5 separate regions of the Homo sapiens genome follow, and all the other regions are linked to region 2. Evidence: promoter capture Hi-C in 16 types of primary human blood cells and fetal thymus (Javierre and others, 2016). All regions are on one chromosome and are shown on one strand. The core of a region is centred on a gene start or on the middle of the fragment in contact, and the rest is flanking DNA. Distances in the headings are between cores, read along the strand shown. Region 1 overlaps ARFIP2 (ARF interacting protein 2). Region 2 holds the start of RRM1 (ribonucleotide reductase catalytic subunit M1). Region 3 has its middle 1.6 kb from the start of CNGA4. Region 4 overlaps TPP1 (tripeptidyl peptidase 1). Region 5 overlaps APBB1 (amyloid beta precursor protein binding family B member 1).

Region 1 (2,700 bases), core at 90-2,589, 2.4 Mb before region 2:
GGGGGCGGGGACTCACACACCTGGGAGACATAACTGACTGTGGAAGGGTCACCGATATCCTGGGAGAGAGAGGCTTTTACCAGAGACTGGGAACATACACCCACTGATCTAACTAAGGCCTGGTGGGGAGGGCCCGAGGAAGACGAGGTGTATGAGACGGAGGAGGGGAGACCCCCTGAAGGAAGGGGGAAGAAACGCTAAAGGAATGTGAAAGGCCAAGCAATGGAGAACAAACCTGAATAGGGGGGTGAAGACCTGAGCCCTGGAAAGGGTTCATCTCCTCAGCATAAACACGCCTGCATGGAGATAAGTTCTAAGAGAGCAGACTTTCCCTCTTCACTGTTGTATTTTCATTGTCACAAATAGTGCCTGACACATAGTAGGCACTCACTAAATGTCTGCTGAATGAGTGTAGAAATAATCACCAGAGTCCTGGTGAGGTTGGGGGCTTGTGAGAAGACACCGTGCTTTGGTGTGCCTGTTTCAAATGTGCGTTTTGGAGGGGAGAAATACATATATCTGAAGAAAGGAATGATGGCCAAACGCTGGGACACTCAAACCCTGGGACAGCCTTTAAAGAAATGACAGAGGAGGCCTCCTTCTTCTAGAGTGCTGGCCAGTGTCCAGAACTTCTGTGTTGGGCTTTGCAGGGTGCTGGGGTGGAGAGTTTTACTCCAATACCTTTCCTAGCCATGACGGACGGGATCCTAGGGAAGGCAGCCACAATGGAGATCCCTATCCACGGGAACGGCGAAGCCAGGCAGCTTCCTGAAGATGATGGGCTGGAGCAGGTGCTTCTGTTTGATTCTTCTAATTGTTTCAATTTAGGAATCCAATTTATAAATCCTAGGTTCTCACCCTCCATTCCAGTAGCCTTCCCCTGACTTATCTGACTCCCTTCATTCTTTTTACGTATCATTTTGATTCTGTGCAGACTTCCCTTGTGTACTATCTTTATGATGCTTGAATCCAAACTTGTTCCCACCTCCAAAATGCTTCTGCAGCCCCTATGTTCCTGAAGCAACCCCTCTTCTCTGGCCTATAGGACCTCCAGCAGGTGATGGTGTCAGGACCCAACCTCAATGAAACCAGCATTGTGTCTGGTGGCTATGGGGGCTCTGGTGATGGACTCATCCCCACAGGTATGAATGTTCAGAAACAGGAATCTTGGGTGGAGGAGGGGACAGGAATGGTTTGGGGAAGCATAGGATATGTCTAGGAAAGCTTGAATTATGTCTGGAGATCTTGGGAACTTCTGCTTGTAGGAACCTCATGGACTCTCCTCAGCCCAAAAGCAACTCCCAGCGTTGTCCATCCATTTCCCTTTTGCCACTTAGCCCCTGAAATGGCTCATTTGTCCTTTCCCTGCCACCACCTGAGTCAAGTTAAGACCTGCTTCACAGGAATGCCCCCCCTCTACAGCTTGAGGCTGAGTTGGAACTTTGTGAAGCTTCTCAGAATTTTTAGATTCTAAAGTTTAGAGGAACAAACAGCCCTGAATCTCACACTAAGATTCCACATGGGAATGCAACCAGGTTTCTTGTTATCATGACCCACCATCCTTGACTCCTGCTGCCCCCAAACTCAGTGTATTTTCTTCTGTTTCCTCTGCCCCTGTACACCAACAACTCCCTGCAAACCCCTCCTCTAACCCCCAAGGAGGCCATATGTATATCAGGATTTGGTTCTCACCGCGCAAAGTCCGAGTTCCTCCTAGTAAGCAGGAGCATCCAGTTGTCTCTAGCATCTCCTTCAGGGAAGTCAATTTCATGTGCTCGAAGAGAAGTATGGGTGGGGCCACAGAGGTGTCTGGTGTATCTGAGAGAGGCTGGTGTCAGAGAACTTGATCCTTTAGGGTCTGGCCGCCATCCATCTCACAGCACCACTCCTTCTGGCCCTGGAGATGAGGTGGCTCGGGGCATTGCTGGAGAAAAGTTTGACATCGTCAAGAAATGGGGCATCAACACCTATAAGGTAGGATTTAAGCACCTCTCCCTTCCCCAAAACTCCTTATGGGTACCTTTTTCCCTTTTCTTCGTGATCGTAATATCCCATCTGTGGCTGAGAGTAGGAGCCTGGGGGGTGCTGGGGTAGATACCTGTTGTGTGGGGAGGCTGTTAGGGTCTCTGATTTATTCCCCCATTTCCCAATCAGTGCACAAAGCAACTGTTATCAGAACGATTTGGTCGAGGCTCACGGACTGTGGACCTGGAGCTAGAGCTGCAGATTGAGTTGCTGCGTGAGACGAAGCGCAAGTATGAGAGTGTCCTGCAGCTGGGCCGGGCACTGACAGCCCACCTCTACAGCCTGCTGCAGACCCAGCATGCACTGGGTGATGCCTTTGCTGACCTCAGCCAGAAGTCCCCAGAGCTTCAGGTGCCTCACCCAGACCAAAGAGGGTGGGGGAACTGGGCATGGGCCCTCCCAGGCAGTCATTCCTCATCCTCCCTCCCTCCTGCAGCCCACAGGGAGAACCCCTTCAGGGTGGGCCCAGCCCTACCCCCAGCAGCACTCACCTGTGGAGGCAGCCTAAGGGTTTGTACAGAGGTCCAGAAGTTGGAGGGGGTGGGGGAGGGGGCACACTAGGTGCCTCACAAATAACCCCTCTCTGCACTGGGGAGAATGCCTTCGTGCTCAGCCTAATCAGAGCCCCTCCCCTGCTTGCCACACTAGCTCTCAGACTGTTCCAGTCTTGTGAAC
Region 2 (2,700 bases), core at 138-2,637:
CTCATGGTGGTGCATGCCTATAGTCCCAGCTACTTGAGAGGCTGAGGCAAGAGCATCGCTTGAGCCCAGGACTTCAAGGTTACAGTAAGCTATGATTACACCACTGCATTCCATCCTGGGTGACAGAGCAAGACTCTGTCTCAAACAAGTCTCCATCTTTGAAATGTTCACAGCCTAGAGGACAAAATAGAAACAACCAGTCGATTAACCAGTATTTACTAAGTGCCTACAATTTTGAAATCATTGTATTGCTTTAACAAAGGCAAGTAGGTTCAACTCAAAACTTGTTCATACGTATCTCATGCGGTTGTTAAAAGTATGTTGCTCTTGTTTTTCCAACCCGATGAAGCCTGTTCCCAAGGCAGGGACTGTCTCCTCCTACAATCTCACAAAGCCAAGCAAAGGGCTGGGCACAAAGCGGGCACTTGGCAAGTCTAATGAAAAAGAACTGTTGAGAAAGAATACGAGTTCCTGACTCTTCCCAGTCCCCATCTTGTCAGAAGATGTCTCAGCCACCCTTCTCTGATTCAGCATCTCTTCCCATGAAGGGAAAGGAACTCGAGGGTGCTGTCTGTCTGGGATCTGTTTTTTCCACGCCACACTCCTATCCTCACCCCACAAAAGAGATCAGTAAACTGACAAGTGCCTACGGAGGGTAGAGAGGCCCCCTCCTTCTTTCCTAGCTGCCCCCCGACCCTGTGCCTAAGACAGCTCACCAACCCCACGGTTTTCAAATCAAACCGTATTGTCACCTATGGGTGACTTTGGGTCAGTCGGCGACACCTCGCTCTGAGCGTCAGTTTCCTCATCTGTAATAAGCTAATCATCTCTCAGAGGCTTGCAGGGAGGAATAAAATAGTGCCTGGCAAGTGCTCGGCGTACGCAGTCACTACTCGATACGGGGTAAGTGTTATCCTTTTGAAAGGCGGCAGGATGACAAAGCCGAGGGGGCGCAGCCTGAAGGCCCGAAGGAGGTTCGGGGCAGGCTGACTGAAGACAGAAGGCCGAGCGGGCTGACAGGGCGGAAGGCCGCGGCGGGAAATGCGGGAAAGGCGGGAAGCAGCGAAGGCGGGCGGGCGGTCTGGGCATCAGCTCCGGCGGCGGCAGCCCGCATCCCCTCACCTTCCTTCTCGCCCACCTCGTCCCCCCCTCACCTCGCTTGATCACATGCATCGCAGCTAGTGGCTGAGGCTCTGAAGGATCCAAGACTGGACTGCGGCTCTAAAGCGCCGGCGGGATCGAGAAGGTGACAGAGTGGGAAGGGTTAGGTTCCAGGCGCTGCTCAGGGGAAAGAACTGGAGTTGGAGCCAGACAGCACTTTCTTCAGAGCAGAGGCGCAACAATCCAAATCCCCTTCCCGCGCCCGCCACCCGTGACGCACAAAGGGGCGCGACGGGGTTCGAATGACGTTACTCGACGCTGCGGCCCACGCCCGGGGTAGGCTTCACAGACTGACAGGCGACGTGTAGCCGCCATGTTGAGTCTGGGCAAGACCCAGAAGACTACGCCTCTCCCATGGGCCCCATTGGATATGGACATGCCCGGCGGAAATGCTGCTCTCCTGCTACCATGTTTTGTGTGGGCAAGCCGAGTTCGGGACCCTCGGGGCCCTGGCGTAGCACCTAGAGCCCGCTGGGTCAGGCGCCGCCCTCTCACCTGCGCGTCTCCGCCGGAGGAAAGGCGGTTAATTTATTTTTGAAATAACAAAACCTAACCGGCGGGAACGTTTTTCTTGCTCTGACATTTATTATAATAATACTAACACTGCCGTCCGCTGTGGGCTCCAGCCCAGGCTCCACAGCCGTGGGCAGCTTGGAGCCCCAGGGCTTTTAGATCGGCCAGAGGACTGACACTCTGGAACTGGAAGAAAACCGCGCAAGGCCGATGGCGTTTGGATTTTATCCTGACGCAAATCAGAGCCCTGAGAGAATTTTAAGCAGGGCAGGGTCAGTACCCATTTGCTTTTAGGGTTCTTCAGTGGATGGTGGCAGAGACAGGGTATTTGCCTTGTGGAGGTAGGATGGACTTGGTGACTTAGAGTGGAGAATAAGAATAGATGAGAACCGTAATATGTAAGGCTGGTGTAGAAGCTTCTGATTTGGGCTACCCAAAGCGATCTTTATGAAATTTCATCTGTGGCATCTTTTCCCTAAAGCCTTTTCGTTGGTTTCTCACTGCCCTCCAGAAGCTGCCCAGGCTCCCTGTGAAGTAATTTCAAAAATCATGGAAAGTCGTAAGTGAGCCTGTAATTGCAGCATTTTGGGAGGCTAAGGCGGGAGCATCATGTGAGGCCAGGTGTTGAGATAAGCCTGGGCAACATAGTGAGACCCCATTTCTACAAAAAATAGAAAAAGTAGGCCAGCGCGGTGCTTCACTCCTGTAATCCCAGCACTATGGGAGGCCAAGGCGGGCAGATCACGAGGTCAGGAGTTCGAGACCAGCCTAACCAACGTGGTGAAACCCCCCCGCTGCTAAAAATACAAAAAGTAGCCAGGCATGGTAGCACGCGCCTGTAATCCCAGCTACTCAGGAGGCTGAGGCAGAAGAATCGCTTGAACGCTGGAGGCAGAGGTTGCAGTGAGCCAAGATCGCGCCATTGCACCCTAGCCTAGGCAAGAGAGTGAGACGCCGTCTCAAAAAAAACAAAAAAAAAGAAAGAAAAATTAAATAGATATGTTTTTTAAAAGTCGTAAGTGAAGT
Region 3 (2,700 bases), core at 147-2,646, 2.1 Mb before region 2:
CTTTGCAAATTCTATTTGGGCCTCACTATTTATTTATTTAACAACTATTACTGAATGGCTTATCTATGTCAGGTGCTAAACTATTCTCCAGGGACAAAGAGATGCCTCTCACATGAGAAGTGAGCTCTATTTTTGTAACCTACTTCCTACCCTTATCTACCTCCACATACGCCTTCCCCCATCACACCATTCTCATAGGTAGTGTGATAGGGGCCATCCTATGGTGCTTTTGTCCTCATATCCTTCTTGTGACTTCTAGTGCCTGATCCTACCAACCATTCCATGTGTTTTATGGTCCCCAATCTTTCAACTTTTCTCTTTTTGTGAACCTGCTTCAATATCTCCTATATCAAAACAAACAAAAACCCTACAATTTCTCCCTCAACCTGATGTTCCTTTCACTGCTATCATCTTTCTCAGTCAACAAATCAAAATCAGAACACCCATAGGCAGGTGTTCTGTGTGCCAGGCCAATATTGTGCTAAATACTAGGAATTGGAGATGAATAAGACACGCTCCCCCTTCTCCAGAAGCTCACAGTCTGCTAGGTGAAATAGTCAGGCCAGCAGGTAATTACACATGAGGTAACTAAACAGCAGCAGTCATTGCCAGGCTGCTGATGAGTACTCTGTTAGCTGGATACACGGAAGGCTATTATAGTACACATGAAGTGGCCCTACAGAGCCTGGGTTCTGCAGGATGAATAGGAGTTGGGTACAGAGATGGGAGGGTGAAGAGCACTAGAGGCAGAATGCACAGAGTGGGCAAAGGCATAGAGATATCAAAAAGCGTGGGTGACTGGGCAAATATCAATTGGCTTATTTTAGAGGGCCTAGCGGGTAGTGGTGAGAGATGAGGTTGAATGATAGACAGAGGCCAGCTCAGGAGGAGTTCTGTCAGCCATGTTATAAAGCTTGGATTTTACCCAACGGCAATAGAGAACCTGTGAAGAGTTTTTCACAGTTCAGTGATAAAATCAGGTTTGTGTTTTTGGAGTGTGTTTTAGAAGAAAAACCTGTGGTCCCTAATTAAATTTTGAAAAACTCTCTTTTCCCATGGCTTCTTAATTTCTTTTTGCAAAGTATTACGCTTGTTAAAATAAAAAGACAACATTCAAAGTAATGCAACAAAATGAATAAAATCCTTTGTAATGCCATAATGTCTTGGTTTGCTGTTTCTTTTTAGTGTCTTTCATAAGCTCCTCTGTCTATTCCTTCTATGATGGTGTTTTTTTTTTTTCTTGGATTCTGTTCTAGGCTTTCTACTTTTGCCATCCTCCTAACTCTGTCTGATTGACGTCAGTCACCCACAGGACTTCCTTTCTCATATAGTGGCTCCCGAGAACTCTCCCTGAGTTTCAGTTATCTATATGACTAACTGCTCACTGGATGTTCCTACTTGGGTATCCCGCGGTCACCTTCAACCCATTGGGTCTATAACTAAGCTCATTATCTTCCTCCACTTTTTCTTCTAGAATTCCTATCTATGCCCTTTCAGCAAAAAAACCTATGACAAGCATTTATTACTATTTACTGTATAATGTTGTGGCAGTTAAAAAAAATGGTCACAAATTCTTCGACACCACTCCCTTGTGATAGTTTGTATAGCAGGAGTGATGTTGTGTGACTTCTAAGGCTAGATCATAAAAGGCCATGCAGCTTCCCTCTGGTTCTCTTGGAATGCGTGTTGTCTGGTAGCTCCCTCTCAGAATGTTCCCTCTTGGAACCTACCCATCACATTGTGAGAAGTTCTGTTTGACAGTTTGCCCAATGAGTTCAGCTTTTTCATTATCCCAGCCCAGGAATTAGATGTGTGACTGAAGAAGCCTCCAGATGCTTCCAGCCACCAGCCTCAAACCACCTCTAGATGTTCAAGCTTTACAAATAAGGCCCCAGACATCATGGAATAGAGACAAGCCATTCCTGTTGCATCTCGTCCAAATTCCCAGAATTTGTGCACATAATAAAATGGCTATTGTTTTTATGACACTAAGTTTGGGTTGGTTTGTCACATAGCATAGTAACCAGAACAAACAAACACAGAGAAAGGTGTACAATCCTTAAGTATATAGCTTAATACATTTTCACAAAGTGAACACACCCATATAACCAAGCACTCAGATCAAGAAACAGAACATCACCAGTGCCTCAGGAGCCCCACTCTGCCCCTTTCAGTCAATGTTTTTCCAAGAATAATCACTATCCTGAATTCTAATATCACAGTTTAGTTTTACCTGTTTTTGAATTTATATAAACTAAGCATTAGTTTTTAATTCTTCCTCTTATTTTCCTCTTATATCCACCCAATCATCAAACCATGGTGATCTACCTTCTAAAAATCCACATGTCCACTTCTCTGCATTTTTGCTACTCTAGTTTGGGCCTTATCAGCTTGTTTGGTCTTTTGCAAAGTTACTGTATAACTATCAATCTATGTATAAAATTCTTTATAGCTATCATCCCAAAAATAAAATCTAAATTCCTTAACATGGTTTATAAAGTTCTCCAGTCCATGTCTTCAGCCTCATCTCACAATGTTTCCTCACATGTTCCCTAGGCTCCCGACACACTGTACTGATTGCAGTTCTTACAGCACCTCCCACATGCTGTCCATTCTTCCTTTCCCTGGTATATGCTGATCCTTTGGTCTGAAACTTCTATTTCTTTTTAAATACTTTTTATTTGAACTAATTTTAGGCTT
Region 4 (2,500 bases), core at 1-2,500, 2.5 Mb before region 2:
AGAAAAGTGTGCACAGTCACCTCGGGCCATGCCTTGAAGGCTCAAAATCTCTTAGTCAATCCCATATACATGCTTCCCCACAGAGTCTAGTTCCTCCAGCAAGACCTGGGCTATACTCACCCCTCCCCACATATCTTGGAGGTCCCCTTGGGTCCCCTACTATCCAAATGCTGTCTTCTCCCCTCAGCCCCTATGTCACCACAGTGGGAGGCACATCCTTCCAGGAACCTTTCCTCATCACAAATGAAATTGTTGACTATATCAGTGGTGGTGGCTTCAGCAATGTGTTCCCACGGCCTTCATACCAGGTACGTGTGTTTGTGTGGATGGATGCAGGGTAAGAGTGAGGATGGGGGATCCTCAGTTCAGCTGACTGCTGGGCAGGCCACATGCCAATACTCACTCAAAAATGCCTTTCAGGAGGAAGCTGTAACGAAGTTCCTGAGCTCTAGCCCCCACCTGCCACCATCCAGTTACTTCAATGCCAGTGGCCGTGCCTACCCAGATGTGGCTGCACTTTCTGATGGCTACTGGGTGGTCAGCAACAGAGTGCCCATTCCATGGGTGTCCGGAACCTCGGTGAGAATCAGCCCATCTCCAAACTCTCACTCAGGAACTACCCTTACCCCCTAACACCTTGAACACCTTGCACCTAGAACCCCTGACTCCTTAGAGATGTCTGATACTTTAAAGCATCACTCCCAAAAAGTCCAATCACTCAGAACCCCTGACCTCTACTTGCACCTTCACTCTTGTAGGCCTCTACTCCAGTGTTTGGGGGGATCCTATCCTTGATCAATGAGCACAGGATCCTTAGTGGCCGCCCCCCTCTTGGCTTTCTCAACCCAAGGCTCTACCAGCAGCATGGGGCAGGACTCTTTGATGTAAGTATGGAAGGGAAGGGTGTGGACGTTTTCAAACAACTATGGGGAGTGCTAAGGGGGACTTGGGGGCAGTTAGGGTGGTGTGGAATAGCCTTTGAAATGTGAGTACAGGGTGAGGAGATATACTCTTTAAGTACTGGTACTAGTAGGCCCAGATCTGATGCCAGCCTCCTCCCTAGGTAACCCGTGGCTGCCATGAGTCCTGTCTGGATGAAGAGGTAGAGGGCCAGGGTTTCTGCTCTGGTCCTGGCTGGGATCCTGTAACAGGCTGGGGAACACCCAACTTCCCAGCTTTGCTGAAGACTCTACTCAACCCCTGACCCTTTCCTATCAGGAGAGATGGCTTGTCCCCTGCCCTGAAGCTGGCAGTTCAGTCCCTTATTCTGCCCTGTTGGAAGCCCTGCTGAACCCTCAACTATTGACTGCTGCAGACAGCTTATCTCCCTAACCCTGAAATGCTGTGAGCTTGACTTGACTCCCAACCCTACCATGCTCCATCATACTCAGGTCTCCCTACTCCTGCCTTAGATTCCTCAATAAGATGCTGTAACTAGCATTTTTTGAATGCCTCTCCCTCCGCATCTCATCTTTCTCTTTTCAATCAGGCTTTTCCAAAGGGTTGTATACAGACTCTGTGCACTATTTCACTTGATATTCATTCCCCAATTCACTGCAAGGAGACCTCTACTGTCACCGTTTACTCTTTCCTACCCTGACATCCAGAAACAATGGCCTCCAGTGCATACTTCTCAATCTTTGCTTTATGGCCTTTCCATCATAGTTGCCCACTCCCTCTCCTTACTTAGCTTCCAGGTCTTAACTTCTCTGACTACTCTTGTCTTCCTCTCTCATCAATTTCTGCTTCTTCATGGAATGCTGACCTTCATTGCTCCATTTGTAGATTTTTGCTCTTCTCAGTTTACTCATTGTCCCCTGGAACAAATCACTGACATCTACAACCATTACCATCTCACTAAATAAGACTTTCTATCCAATAATGATTGATACCTCAAATGTAAGATGCGTGATACTCAACATTTCATCGTCCACCTTCCCAACCCCAAACAATTCCATCTCGTTTCTTCTTGGTAAATGATGCTATGCTTTTTCCAACCAAGCCAGAAACCTGTGTCATCTTTTCACCCCACCTTCAATCAACAAGTCCTCAATCAACAAGTCCTACTGACTGCACATCTTAAATATATCTTTATCAGTCCACAAGTCCTTCCAATTATATTTCCCAAGTATATCTAGAACTTATCCACTTATATCCCCACTGCTACTACCTTAGTTTAGGGCTATATTCTCTTGAAAAAAAGTGTCCTTACTTCCTGCCAATCCCCAAGTCATCTTCCAGAGTAAAATGCAAATCCCATCAGGCCACTTGGATGAAAACCCTTCAAGGATTACTGGATAGAATTCAGGCTTTCCCCTCCAGCCCCCAATCATAGCTCACAAACCTTCCTTGCTATTTGTTCTTAAGTAAAAAATCATTTTTCCTCCTCCCTCCCCAAACCCCAAGGAACTCTCACTCTTGCTCAAGCTGTTCCGTCCCCTTACCACCCCTGATACAACTGCCAGGTTAATTTCCAGAATTCTTGCAAGACTCAGTTCAG
Region 5 (2,700 bases), core at 147-2,646, 2.3 Mb before region 2:
CCTTCCCAGCTCAGAGCCTCAGGTGAGCTGCCAGATGCAGTGAGCTGGCAGTGGGATGGATCTGTCTGGAAGGGGCCTTGGGACAGCTCCATTTATGGGAGCCCTGTGCCAAGTATTACCATCTGCCTTCAGCCCAGAGCCGTTGCCCCAAGAGGAGGAGAAGCTTCCCCCACGGAATACCAACCCAGGGATCAAGGTTTGTTCAAGACTGACACCCATTCTGAGTCTGGGGCCCTCTTATTTGTCAGACAGCCCCTAATGTTGTGCTCTGAGGGGTCTCAGCGCAGTTCCCCAGGTCCTGAGTTAGGAGTTCTTCCAGTCTCAGCACAGAGCCCTGTGTCTGAGCTGGAGGCACTTCAGTTTTTAAATCAACCAGCCCAACAGCCAGGTTGGGGGCCCTTGTAGTCTTAGTTCAGGTGCTTTTTTGTACTAGCTGGGGTCTCATCTGACATCTCCCTCACCCTAACCACATCCCCCTCTCCCTAACCACATCCTGTTTGGGGAGCTTCTCCGTCTTAGTTCAGAACACCCTGCCTCCTGCCACACTCTGTAGTCAGGAACTCTCCAGTTTTGACTCAGATCCTCTACCTCCTGCCCCTCTTCTGTGTCTGGCAGTGTTTCGCCGTGCGCTCCCTAGGCTGGGTAGAGATGACCGAGGAGGAGCTGGCCCCTGGACGCAGCAGTGTGGCAGTCAACAATTGCATCCGTCAGCTCTCTTACCACAAAAACAACCTGCATGACCCCATGTCTGGGGGCTGGGGGGAAGTAAGGACCTGAGCCGGGGGTAGGGGGTGGTACTGTGAGAGTGTGAAGGGAATTATGAGAGATGGGAGGTCTGACCTGCCCACAAGCAGGCTGGGGAAGGGGGATATTGGCCCATCCTAAGTGGCAGCCCTGTGGGATGGATGAGCGACCCCAGGCCAGGACCTTGGGAGATAGTCGCCTAACAACGGTGGAGTCAATGTGAGAGATGACACGTGACCTCCACTAGAGTGAGGCCTGCAGGGCGGGCGGTCTGACACCAAAGCAGGGGCCCCAGAGCTGTGGCTAACATCCCCTGAGCTGCAGGGGTCAGAGATCAGCCACCATCCTGGCTGGAGTCCCACTGAGTGCCTGCTTCTGGTCCTGCAGGGAAAGGATCTGCTACTGCAGCTGGAGGATGAGACACTAAAGCTAGTGGAGCCACAGAGCCAGGCACTGCTGCACGCCCAACCCATCATCAGCATCCGCGTGTGGGGCGTCGGGCGGGACAGTGGAAGGTGGGAATAGGGCTTGGGATTCGAGGGTGGGAGTTCATCCAGCATCAGAGTCCTCCTCTCTAACTCTGTTATTTGCCTCTCTTGTGCTGCTGGACCCAGAGAGAGGTACTATGCCTATTTTCCCCCTCCTACACCTGGACCAGATGCCTGGAAGCACCCAAGCTCCCCTCTTCTGCCCTGCCCCTTCCCACCCGCTATGCTCCACCATTACCCTCCACCTCAGCATGCTTGCCTGTCTACCCCTCCCCCCCAAGAAGGCAGCACCTATGGGGGACCAGCTGTGGGCAGAAGCCCTGGAGGAGCTGTGATGGGCAGGGAGGACGTGGGTGGGGTGGGGACCAGGCTCAGCACTGGATGGTACTGGGAGACACTGAGGTGCCCCTTCCCCAACAGGGACTTTGCCTACGTAGCTCGTGATAAGCTGACCCAGATGCTCAAGTGCCACGTGTTTCGCTGTGAGGCACCTGCCAAGAACATCGCCACCAGCCTGCATGAGATCTGCTCTAAGGCACGGCCCCCTCCACTCCCTGGACTAGTTGCCACCTTTGCTCTACAAGGGTGTGGGTGGGGTCACTGAGTGCTGTAGGGGGGCCCCAGGGCAATGAGGCTCTAATAGATTCTCCCTGGCTCCTCGCCTCCCTTCCTTCCTCAGATCATGGCCGAACGGCGTAATGCCCGCTGCTTGGTAAATGGACTCTCCCTGGACCACTCTAAACTTGTGGATGTCCCTTTCCAAGGTCAGTGTCAAAACCCCTCCAGGTCCAGCTCAGCTTTGTTGGCAAAGGTGGGTGACCCAAGGAAAGGCATGAGCTCCTGGACAGCGCTGATAGAAAAATGAACACATGAAGACTGAATACTCCAATACGTGGAGGGACTCCGGTTAAAGGGAGGCAGGGGACGAGATGAAAGTAGGGCCTCGGCTGGGCAAGTGTCCAGCTTATGCCCTGCTGGTGGGGCTGCGGGTGAGCAAGGTCTGCCACCATGATCAACCTTCTCTTCTTTCCCATAGTGGAATTCCCAGCGCCTAAGAATGAGTTGGTCCAGAAGTTCCAAGTCTATTACCTGGGGAATGTACCTGTTGCTAAACCTGTTGGTATGTGTGTCCTTCTATACCCAGGGGCTGCTACCTTGATCCTAAAACTCTGCCCCTACCCTCTGCCTTCCAATACTTCTTCTACCAGACCTTCCTCATGCTTGGTGTCTCCCTACCCTTTAAAATGCATCCCACCTCCCCATACTTCTGTCCTAGCTCTATTTCCTGTCCTGCCTATAGCAGCAGTCAGCACGCCTTCGCTGAGCATCAGCCACGTGAGTGGTGCTGAACCAGGCACAAAGGGAGACCCCACTCCTTCATCCCATGGAAAAGCTTTGGTGGGATTGGGAGGCTGATGTTAGATGACTGGAGGACACCAGACAGCAGCCTGTAGCTGGGTTTAGTGTT

The links. Contacts are between HindIII fragments. The CHiCAGO score rates a contact against its expected background, and 5 or more counts as called.
Region 1: a fragment that was not itself captured here is called in contact with the fragment with the promoter of RRM1 in region 2 in 4 of 17 cell types (M0 macrophages, total B cells, total CD4 T cells and 1 more); the score reaches 7.8 in M0 macrophages.
Region 3: a fragment that was not itself captured here is called in contact with the fragment with the promoter of RRM1 in region 2 in 3 of 17 cell types (M0 macrophages, M2 macrophages and naive CD8 T cells); the score reaches 5.7 in M0 macrophages.
Region 4: a fragment that was not itself captured here is called in contact with the fragment with the promoter of RRM1 in region 2 in 1 of 17 cell types (naive CD8 T cells); the score reaches 5.5 in naive CD8 T cells.
Region 5: a contact is called between a fragment that was not itself captured here and the fragment with the promoter of RRM1 in region 2, in 2 of 17 cell types (non-activated CD4 T cells and total CD8 T cells). The highest score is 6.7, in non-activated CD4 T cells.

What each region holds. Positions count from the first base shown.
Region 1 is chr11:6,478,414-6,481,113 of GRCh38, reverse strand. It overlaps ARFIP2 (ARF interacting protein 2), which reads left to right. Exons shown (of 8, transcript NM_001376558.2): 2 at 651-791; 3 at 1,046-1,142; 4 at 1,856-1,974; 5 at 2,155-2,376. The coding sequence starts at 693. Among named protein-coding and RNA genes, the nearest start is that of ARFIP2, 1.6 kb to the left of the region's middle. RefSeq lists enhancers at 35-154, 1-190. The HindIII fragment of the contact is 226 bases long and covers 1,227-1,452 here.
Region 2 is chr11:4,093,486-4,096,185 of GRCh38, reverse strand. It overlaps RRM1 (ribonucleotide reductase catalytic subunit M1), which reads right to left and starts at 1,387. Exons shown (of 19, transcript NM_001033.5): 1 at 1,155-1,387. The coding sequence starts at 1,173. RefSeq lists enhancers at 1,158-1,627, 1,688-1,757. The HindIII fragment of the contact is 7,950 bases long and covers 1-2,092 here.
Region 3 is chr11:6,236,094-6,238,793 of GRCh38, reverse strand. It overlaps a transcript of CNGA4 not described here. Among named protein-coding and RNA genes, the nearest start is that of CNGA4, 1.6 kb to the left of the region's middle. The HindIII fragment of the contact is 962 bases long and covers 916-1,877 here.
Region 4 is chr11:6,613,250-6,615,749 of GRCh38, reverse strand. TPP1 (tripeptidyl peptidase 1) reads left to right here. Exons shown (of 13, transcript NM_000391.4): 10 at 188-308; 11 at 421-579; 12 at 759-884; 13 at 1,064-2,500. The coding sequence ends at 1,204. Among named protein-coding and RNA genes, the nearest start is that of TAF10, 2.3 kb to the right of the region's middle. The HindIII fragment of the contact is 2,784 bases long and covers 1-2,500 here.
Region 5 is chr11:6,400,641-6,403,340 of GRCh38, reverse strand. It overlaps APBB1 (amyloid beta precursor protein binding family B member 1), which reads left to right. Exons shown (of 15, transcript NM_001164.5): 5 at 1-22; 6 at 133-196; 7 at 616-765; 8 at 1,132-1,259; 9 at 1,359-1,364; 10 at 1,653-1,767; 11 at 1,912-1,996; 12 at 2,269-2,352. Among named protein-coding and RNA genes, the nearest start is that of SMPD1, 12 kb to the right of the region's middle. The HindIII fragment of the contact is 2,462 bases long and covers 166-2,627 here.